2 separate regions of the Homo sapiens genome follow, and region 2 is linked to region 1. The links are contacts of gene promoters, found by promoter capture Hi-C in blood cells and fetal thymus (Javierre and others, 2016). All regions are on one chromosome and are shown on one strand. The core of a region is centred on a gene start or on the middle of the fragment in contact, and the rest is flanking DNA. Distances in the headings are between cores, read along the strand shown.

Region 1 (3,991 bases), core at 1,402-3,901:
GGCTGGTCTCGAACTCCTGACCTCAGGTAATCCGCCTGCCTTGGCCTCCCAGAGTGCTGGGATTATAGGCATGAGCCACCATGCCAGGCCTCGGACTTAGAATTTTCTTTTCTTTTTTTCTTTGAGCGGAGTCTTGCTCTGTCCCCCAGGCTGGAGTGCAATGGCGTGATCTTGGCTCACTGCAACCTCTGCCTCCTGGGTTCAAGCGATTCTCCTGCCTCAGCCTCCTGACTAGCTGAGATTACAGGCACCCACCACCATGCCCGGCTAATTTTTGTATTTTTAGTAGAGACGAGGTTTCACCATATTGGTCAGGCTGGTCTCGAACTCCTGATCTCAGGTGATCCGCCTGCCTCGGCCTCCCAAAGTGCTGGGATTACACGCGTGAGCCACTGCGCCCGGCGACTTACAATATTCTAAGTTCCTCCACTTCCCTCAGCTTAGCCTCACAATGGTCCTGGCAAGCAGATAGGAGTTTCCGCCGACCACCCAAGGCCATAACTGCACATGGGGGCAGATGTGGAACTAGAACCCAGGTCTCCCTGGGGCTTGTTCTGACACACAAAGGTCTGCATTGTGAAAGGACATGAAAGGCACACCAGTGGGCTGCCCCACTGTGTGGGGACTTAGGACCCAGCTATATCCATGACTGTTAATTCACCTCGGGATGCAGCGTTCCTGTAAGAAAAGAAAAGGAGAGCTACGATACGTGGACAGAGGCTTTTGCTCCAGTTTCCATAGACACTGCCCCGTTTGCTCATGCTGTTCCCTCTTGTTAGAACATCTTCATCCCACGCTCTTACTTCTCGCTGACTCATCATGTTTCACAATACACTTGGATTTTTCTCTCTTCCGGGAAACCTCTGCCCCTCCCTGAAGAGGGATAAAGTGACCCTCCTCATACTCCCAGAGTACCAGGTGATTCTCTATAGCATTATCATTAAAAATCAGGGGCTGCATTCTCTCCCTCTGTCCCAGTAGTCTGGGAACTAACTCCTCAGGAGCAGGGACTCCCCTTTCTCATCCTGGTGTTTCCTATTGGCAATGCCTGCCACTCAGTAGTAGGCGCTTGTTGACTGAGACTATTGATCACAGGCAGGTTCGAATGTCTTTGTTCCCTCATCTCTACCCCTGTTAAGGGATTACGGAGTGTCCTATTCATTTCGGGCATATAGAAAATGCTGTTAAAGTTCATTGAATTGAATGAAACAATTAATCGTTCTGCAAAATCTGAGCAGAGAAGTCATTTGGTTTCAAAATACTTGGATAAAAACATTACGGTGGCTCACGCCTGTAATTCCAACACTTTGGGAGGCCGAGGCGGGTGGATTACTTGAAACCAGGAGCTCGAGACCCTGACTCTACTAAAAATACAAAAATGAGCCGGTCGTGGTGGCGCGCGCCTGTAAATCTCAGCTACTCAGGAGGCTGAGGCACGAGAACAGCTTGAACCGGGAGGCGGAGGTTGCAGTGAGCCGATATCGCCACTGAACTCCAGTCAGGGCGACAGTGAAACTCTGTCAGAAAAACAAGAAACAAAAAAACTGTGAGGTACTGAGATCACAAACTGGTGCTCAAAATATACTGATTTCCTTTCTCGTCTGGACTAAACGGGGGTAGGGAAGGGTGAGAAGGAGGGGATCGGCCCTCCCAACAAGTCTCATCTTCCCCAGATGCTGCTTGGTGCTCAGGGGCTGCAAGTACTCTGTCCTTGCACAGAGGGTTGGGGACTCCAGCTGTGCATGGGGGCACACATTAGGCCCACAGCTTGTAATGGACCAGTAGTAAAGTAAGGGAGGGGAAGCAGACTCTCTCTTGGAAAGGAGGCTCCTGAGTCCTTCTTGGGGCTTCCCCCACCAACTGTTTCCCAAACCAGCATACAGTAGGCACTTAGTAAATACTAAACCTAGTAAAGGACTGAATGATGGTAGACCGAACCCCCAAAGCAAAAGAGAAAGGGTCCAACAGCGCCTCCTTGCGGTGCTCTGCCCCAAGCCACGGGGAGAAACGTTGCAGCCCGCGCCGAACGCCGGGCAGCACAAAGGATCCCCGACTGCCGGGGAGCGGTGCTCGGAGGGCACAGGTCTACGCCATCCCCCACGCAGTTTCGGAGATGGAGCGCTGGGCCCATGGAGGGAAGGCGGCAGGCTCGGCGGCTCCGGCAGCTTGCTGGGGCAGGGGCTCAAGGCGGCAGTCCGATAGTGGAGGCCGCTGAGAACTGTCACGGAGCTGCGTCTGTACAGCGAGCATCCCTTATTTATTCAGGGCGAGTGTGTATTTGGGGCGGCGTGCAGGGGGCTGACAAAGACCGGAGAGCTCCCGGTGCGGCCGCCGGCGGAGCGAAGACTGGAACCCGTATGAGCGCCCCCCAGCGCCCCTGAGCGCTCGCCGCCGGTGCACGGCGCACCCCGCGGGAGGCAGGGATCAGCAAAGCCGTGCGCCCCGAGGCCCGCCCCCGTCTCCGCACAAAGACCGTGAGTCCCGGGTCCGAGCCTTCCGCGCGGGGATCGGGCGGTTGTCCGGCGGGTCGTCCTTCGACGGCCTCCTGGCCTCGCCGGAGCGGGTGCGGGGAGGCCCACGCAGCGACGGCTGGAGGAGGGGTGGGCGGGGCTGCCGGGGGTGGGGTCCCCGGGGCGGGGCGGGGCGCGCTGTGTCGCGGGTCGGAGCTCGGTCCTGCTGGAGGCCACGGGTGCCACACACTCGGTCCCGACATGATGGCGAGCATGCGAGTGGTGAAGGTAACCGCGTATAGGATGACCCCTTTCTCTTGGCTCCCCTCGCCTCCCGCATTCCCTCCTCCCTCCATCCCCTCCGCGGCTCTCCGAGCACATTTATTTATTTGTCTGGGCACCAGGGCTGGCTGAATCCCTGTCCTCCCCGCCCTCTACTCAGAGGAGGACTGGCCTGCAAGAGTGGCCAGAGCTGGGGTTTTGGGGGTTTGGAGGCCTCTGCTTGAGCCGTTCGCGTGGTGAAGATGAGCCGGCTCCCCCAAAACTGGTTTCAATTTCGCTTTTCCTGCCTGAAACTTGTGATAACAACTGGGTGCATCTCCAGTGCAGGAAAAGTCCTTGGCATCTTGGTGCCAGGCATTCTGCTACTGCTGGTGGTGGGTTATGAACACAGATGACCAGGATGAAGTCCTTGCCTTGGAATAAGCCCATAGCCCATCCCATAATTTGATGCCTGTATTACTAGAGTCCTGAGAAACACGGAATGCTGATTAGAATTTGGGACAAAGTTCCCTGAGTATTCTCTGGAGGAAAAGATGCGGAGGTGGACCTGGAAGGCCTCCTGGAGTAGGTGGCTTGCGTTCGTGAGTTCTACAAGTGTTGAATGCCTACATGTGCTGGCCCTGTTCTAGGAGGGGGGGGGGGGCGGGCAGAGATGAACACAAATCCGGCCCTTGTTGAATTTTGTTCCTATCAGGGACACAATTTGAAATAAGATCTGGAAGGATGGGGAGGGGGCAGTTTCCTCCAGAAGGTGGGAAAACCCAGGGTGTTTGGAGATGGATTAGGGAGGAAGGTGATCCTGGTGAAGTGAGTCTGGCACCCCAAGTCTTTCAGAAGTGCCCCTTCCAGTCTGCAGGGTGGAGGGGCAGGCTCTAGGAAGAGGGTGCCTGCTACCCTCAGCCTCTGAGAAGAAAATGGCCTCAGACTGGGATGCCCAGAGCAGGCTTGGCCTAGATACTAAATCTGGAGGTTGGCAGCAAAATGAGGCAGAGGGTCTTTCCAGCCAAGTGGAAGAGAGATGGGAGCCAGAATTTATTGCATTGGAACCATTACATGCCAAACGGTTTACATGGTTATTTCATCTAATTCGCACAGCAGTTCTGTGAGATAAGTAATATATACCCGCATTTTACAAATGAGGAAATTGAGGCACAGAGGAAATAACTTGCTTGTCCAGAGTCTTTCAGTAAGGAGCAATGGGACTGGAATATGAAACCAGGTCCACAGGCCTCCAGCCTGCAGGCTCTCTTAATGGCCTT
Region 2 (4,159 bases), core at 669-3,168, 260 kb before region 1:
CTGAGGTTCCATACTGGGAAAAATGTCTCCTAAGTGGGCTATAGACTTCCATGTTGGCCACAAAAAGATTGCCCAGAAGCAGGAAGATACCAGGTCTAAAATGGCACAGACTTATAATGGTAAAATAGGCAATCACGAGGAAAACAAGGAAGACTAATATGCACTATGGTAGAAAGATGTCCATGACATGCTTTATGGGAAAAAAACAAAATTGCAGAATATGTACATCATACATTCCATTAGAAATAAATGTTTGTGGCTGGGCATGGTGGCTCACACCTGTAATCCCAACATTTTGGGAGGCTGAGGCAGGTGGATCACTTGAGGTCAGGAGTTCGAGACCAGTCTGGCCAACATGGAGAAACCCCATCTCTACTAAAAACAAACATTAGCCGGGCATGGTGGCCCACACCTGTAATCCCAGCTACTTGGGAGGCTGAGGCAGGAAAATCACTTGAACCTGGGAGGCAGAAGTTGTAGTGAGCGGAAATCAGCCTGGGCGACAGAGCGAGACTCTGTCTCAAAATAAAAAATAAAAAAGAAGTCTTTGTTGAATAAGCACTTGGAGAAAGATATCTGAAAGGATATGTAACAAATGGTTAAGAGTAGTTATTCCTGGGGAGTGACATAAAAGAGAGGCAAGAATTTTAATTCCGTAATCTGCCGTGTTAAATCATGTTATTTTAAAAAGTCATATAGGGTCTTTTAATTTAAACCAAAATATTAAAAATAATCGATCTATGAGGCAGAATGGGGTCAGGGTGAGGCAAGGTGGGGTTGGGGTGTGTGCTGAAGGTCCACTCCACTGTTGCTGGAGGTGGAGACTCCTGGCTGGTGATGGGCTCTGCCAGCAAAGGACACTCATTCATTATCTCAACTATCACTAGTGGTTACTATGTACGCCTATGTTCAGCACCTACTATGCTCTGTACTTGGTATTTTACTGGCCTTATAGGTAGAGAGCTGCTCAATAAGGAGAAATCCCCAGCCCGCACTGGTCCCATCTGACCCCTGAAAGCCTGGGTTTATGTGGCAATGAGTCTGTTGGAATCAGAGTAAGGGACAAAAGCAGACAGAGTAAAGGAGTATATGGGTTCTTAGTCAGTCCTGTCAGTCCTCCAGGACTCAGGACTACCCTAAGTAAGCTGGCAATCTCTGCTCTGCAGGAAGGACTCACCAAGGGGGACCACCTCACATGAAGTAGCTTCCTCCTATAAGTCACAGGGTGGAATATGGCTGTGCCCTATTGGCTATGCTAACCACTCTTTGAGGGACAAACTTTTGAGCAGGAGAAATAAAACCAGATTTGTAATTCTTGATAGGCTGCCTGGTCGTAGAGGTCTGGAGTGGAAGCAACTAGAGAACTAGTGGAAATAAATGAAGAGGAAAGCAAAGAAAGAGAGGGATCAAGGGACAAGCAAGAGAGGAGTAGGGAGAACAGGATGAGGCAGGACAGTCAGACACAGGCCTGATGGTGGGAAGAACTGGAACTATTGCCCATTTTGCCCAATCGGTAAGGTGGCCTTTCTGGATTCTGAATCCTGGTTTTATACCAGAGGGAAGGAGAATTAAATGGAAGACTGAATCCATGCTCTCTAGGGTTCCAGACCCCAAAGATCCAAATATTGTAGGAAGATTGGAAGAAAAATTAAATATCCTCCAACGATGAAACAGATCAAAGCAAACCCTACTTTTTTGTTAGTTACTTTGCAATGGGAAGCAGCATTGGCTTCTTAAAAAAAACAAACAGGCTGGGTGTGGTGGTTCAAGCCTCACTTTGGGAGGCCACAGTGGGCGGATCACCTGAGGCCAGGAATTCAAGACCAGCCTGGCCAACATGGCGAAACCCCGTCTCTACTAAAAATACAAAAATTAGCCAGGTTTGTTGGCACGCACTTGTAATCCCAGCTACTTGGGAGGCCAAGGCAGGAGAATTGTTTGAACCCAGGAGGAGGTTGCAGTGAGTTGAGATCGCGCCACTGCACTCCAGCCTGGGCAACAGAGTGAGACTCTCTCTCAAAAAATAAAAAAAAGAAAGAAAAAAAAGAAAATTTAAAAACAAACAAAAATATTCTCCTAAATCAGACTAGTTCCCTAGTCTTTCAGGGTCTCCTTTCCCTTCTTAAATATTTATGTACCAACAGGGTTCAGATCTAAACTCTCCACTCTTCTCATACTTACACTCCCTGGGCCATCTCATATACTCTTATAGCTTAAAGTACATTGCTTAAAGTAGACCGTCAAATCTGTATTCAGAATCCAGGCCTCTTTTGAGCCCTAGTGTCACATATCCAGCTGCCTATTGGATACTTCCACTTCAGTGTTCCTCAATCACTTCGAACTTTACTTGTAACTAAATTTTTCTCTTCCAACATATCCTTCTACTTGCCACTGTTTCCTGTCTCAATCAGTGGCTGATATCACCCAGATATCAGAAAATCATTCCTTTTTTGTTTTACTTTTTTTAGATGGGGTCTCACTCTGTTACCCAGGCTGGAGTGTAGTGGCATGACCTTGGCTCACTCTAACCTCTGCCTCCCAGGCTTAAGCCATCCTCCCACCTCAGCCTCCCAAGTAGCTGGGACCAGAAGCCCCATGACACCACACCCAGCTAATTTTTTGTATTTTTAGTAGAGAGAGGGTTTCACCATGTTGCCCAGGCAACTCTTCTCCTCACCCTATGTTCTTCTCAACTCTTCTCCTCACCCTATGTTCTACCAATTCTACCTTCTGAAGCAATTTATGTTAGTAGTAAAAGAAAAACCCACAGCATTTCTAATCAAACAAATCTGATCAAAAACAAAAAAATGTTTAACCTTTGTCACTGAGTGTAACCTAAGGCAAGTTACTTAACTGCTATAAGATGGGGAGAATCACAGAGTTGTGGAAAATATTAAACAAGAATAATGCATATATGGCTGGGTGTGGTGGCTAATGCCTGTAATCCCAGCACTTTGGGAGGCCGAGGGAGGCAGATCACCTGAAGTCAGGAGTTCAAGACCAGCCTGGCCAACATGGTAAAACCCCATTTCTACTAAAAATAGAAAAATTAAGCAGATGTGGTGGTACATGCCTGTAATCCCAGCTACTTGGGAGGCTGAGGCAGGAACTGTTTGAATCTGGGAGGTGGAAGTTGCTGTGAGCCAAGATCACAGTCTCTGCACTCCAGCCTGGGTGACAGAGCATGTGAAGCCTAGCACGAAGGTTAGCCCCAAAATATTTGCTACTATTATATATGTTCATGTCATTCCCCTACGTATAGGGTTCGTGTGATTAAATGTCAATATATTCAAAGTACTTAGAAAGTTTCACACAGCGCTAAATATTACCTGTTAACATTACTGAACTGGAAATATTCTTTTCTTTCTATACTATATGACCTAGTCTAAGCCACCATTATCCCTTGCCTAGAATCTTGCAGCTTCCTCTGATCATCCAGTCTTTTCTTCTCCATACTCTTCTCTATAGCTAGTGATCTAAGGACTTCACTGCTTGAAACCCTTTGCCCTTGGAGTAATTTACCAAATGTTCCTTGAGGACATGTGCTCACTACATGTCTGTCTATCACCAGTATAGGGCCTAACATACAACAAAATACTTAATAAATGTATGTAGCTTTTTATTCATTCTTTCATTCAATTAAATCCCTTCATATCTCTCATGGGTTCTCATGCCCAAAGATTACTCCTTTATCTCTTGAGGTTTCAGACACACAGAAAAACCTTGATATCTTGTGAGGATGTCTTTTCTCATCTTGGTTCTGAGAAGTCTATGTGTTGTCACAAGCACTACCAGAATAAACAGATGCTTCCATGTGGGCGTGCCATAGTAATCTCTAAGCCTTTAACATTCACTTTTGCAAGAATCATTCCTAAAGGTCCTAACACTTAAGCACCTACAACAGAGCCTGGACAAAAGAGGTCTAAGTACCCACCAAAAGACTAAGGCTATCTTTTCCTAATCTAGGGTGTGGACATGTATACCACTTGCTTGTCACTTTGAGTTCCCCTTGAAATCATCCCTGAAGTAGTTGGACATAATAACTGAGCAATCGCATAGCTAATTATATGCATATATATGTAAAAGCACCTGGTGACAAATACAATAGTAATAATACACTATGTGCCAGGTACTGTTTTAAGTCCAATTACATTCATTA

Evidence for each region. Contacts are between HindIII fragments. The CHiCAGO score rates a contact against its expected background, and 5 or more counts as called.
Region 2: a fragment that was not itself captured here is called in contact with the fragment with the promoter of UBE2L6 in region 1 in 1 of 17 cell types (neutrophils); the score reaches 9.0 in neutrophils.

Annotation. Positions count from the first base shown.
Region 1 is chr11:57,566,332-57,570,322 of GRCh38, reverse strand. UBE2L6 (ubiquitin conjugating enzyme E2 L6) reads left to right here and starts at 2,651. Exons shown (of 4, transcript NM_004223.5): 1 at 2,651-2,738. The coding sequence starts at 2,712. RefSeq lists a silencer at 2,288-2,647 and an enhancer at 3,901-3,991. The HindIII fragment of the contact is 19,025 bases long and covers 1-3,991 here.
Region 2 is chr11:57,825,521-57,829,679 of GRCh38, reverse strand. No RefSeq gene overlaps it. Among named protein-coding and RNA genes, the nearest start is that of CTNND1, 66 kb to the right of the region's middle. The HindIII fragment of the contact is 5,724 bases long and covers 1-4,159 here.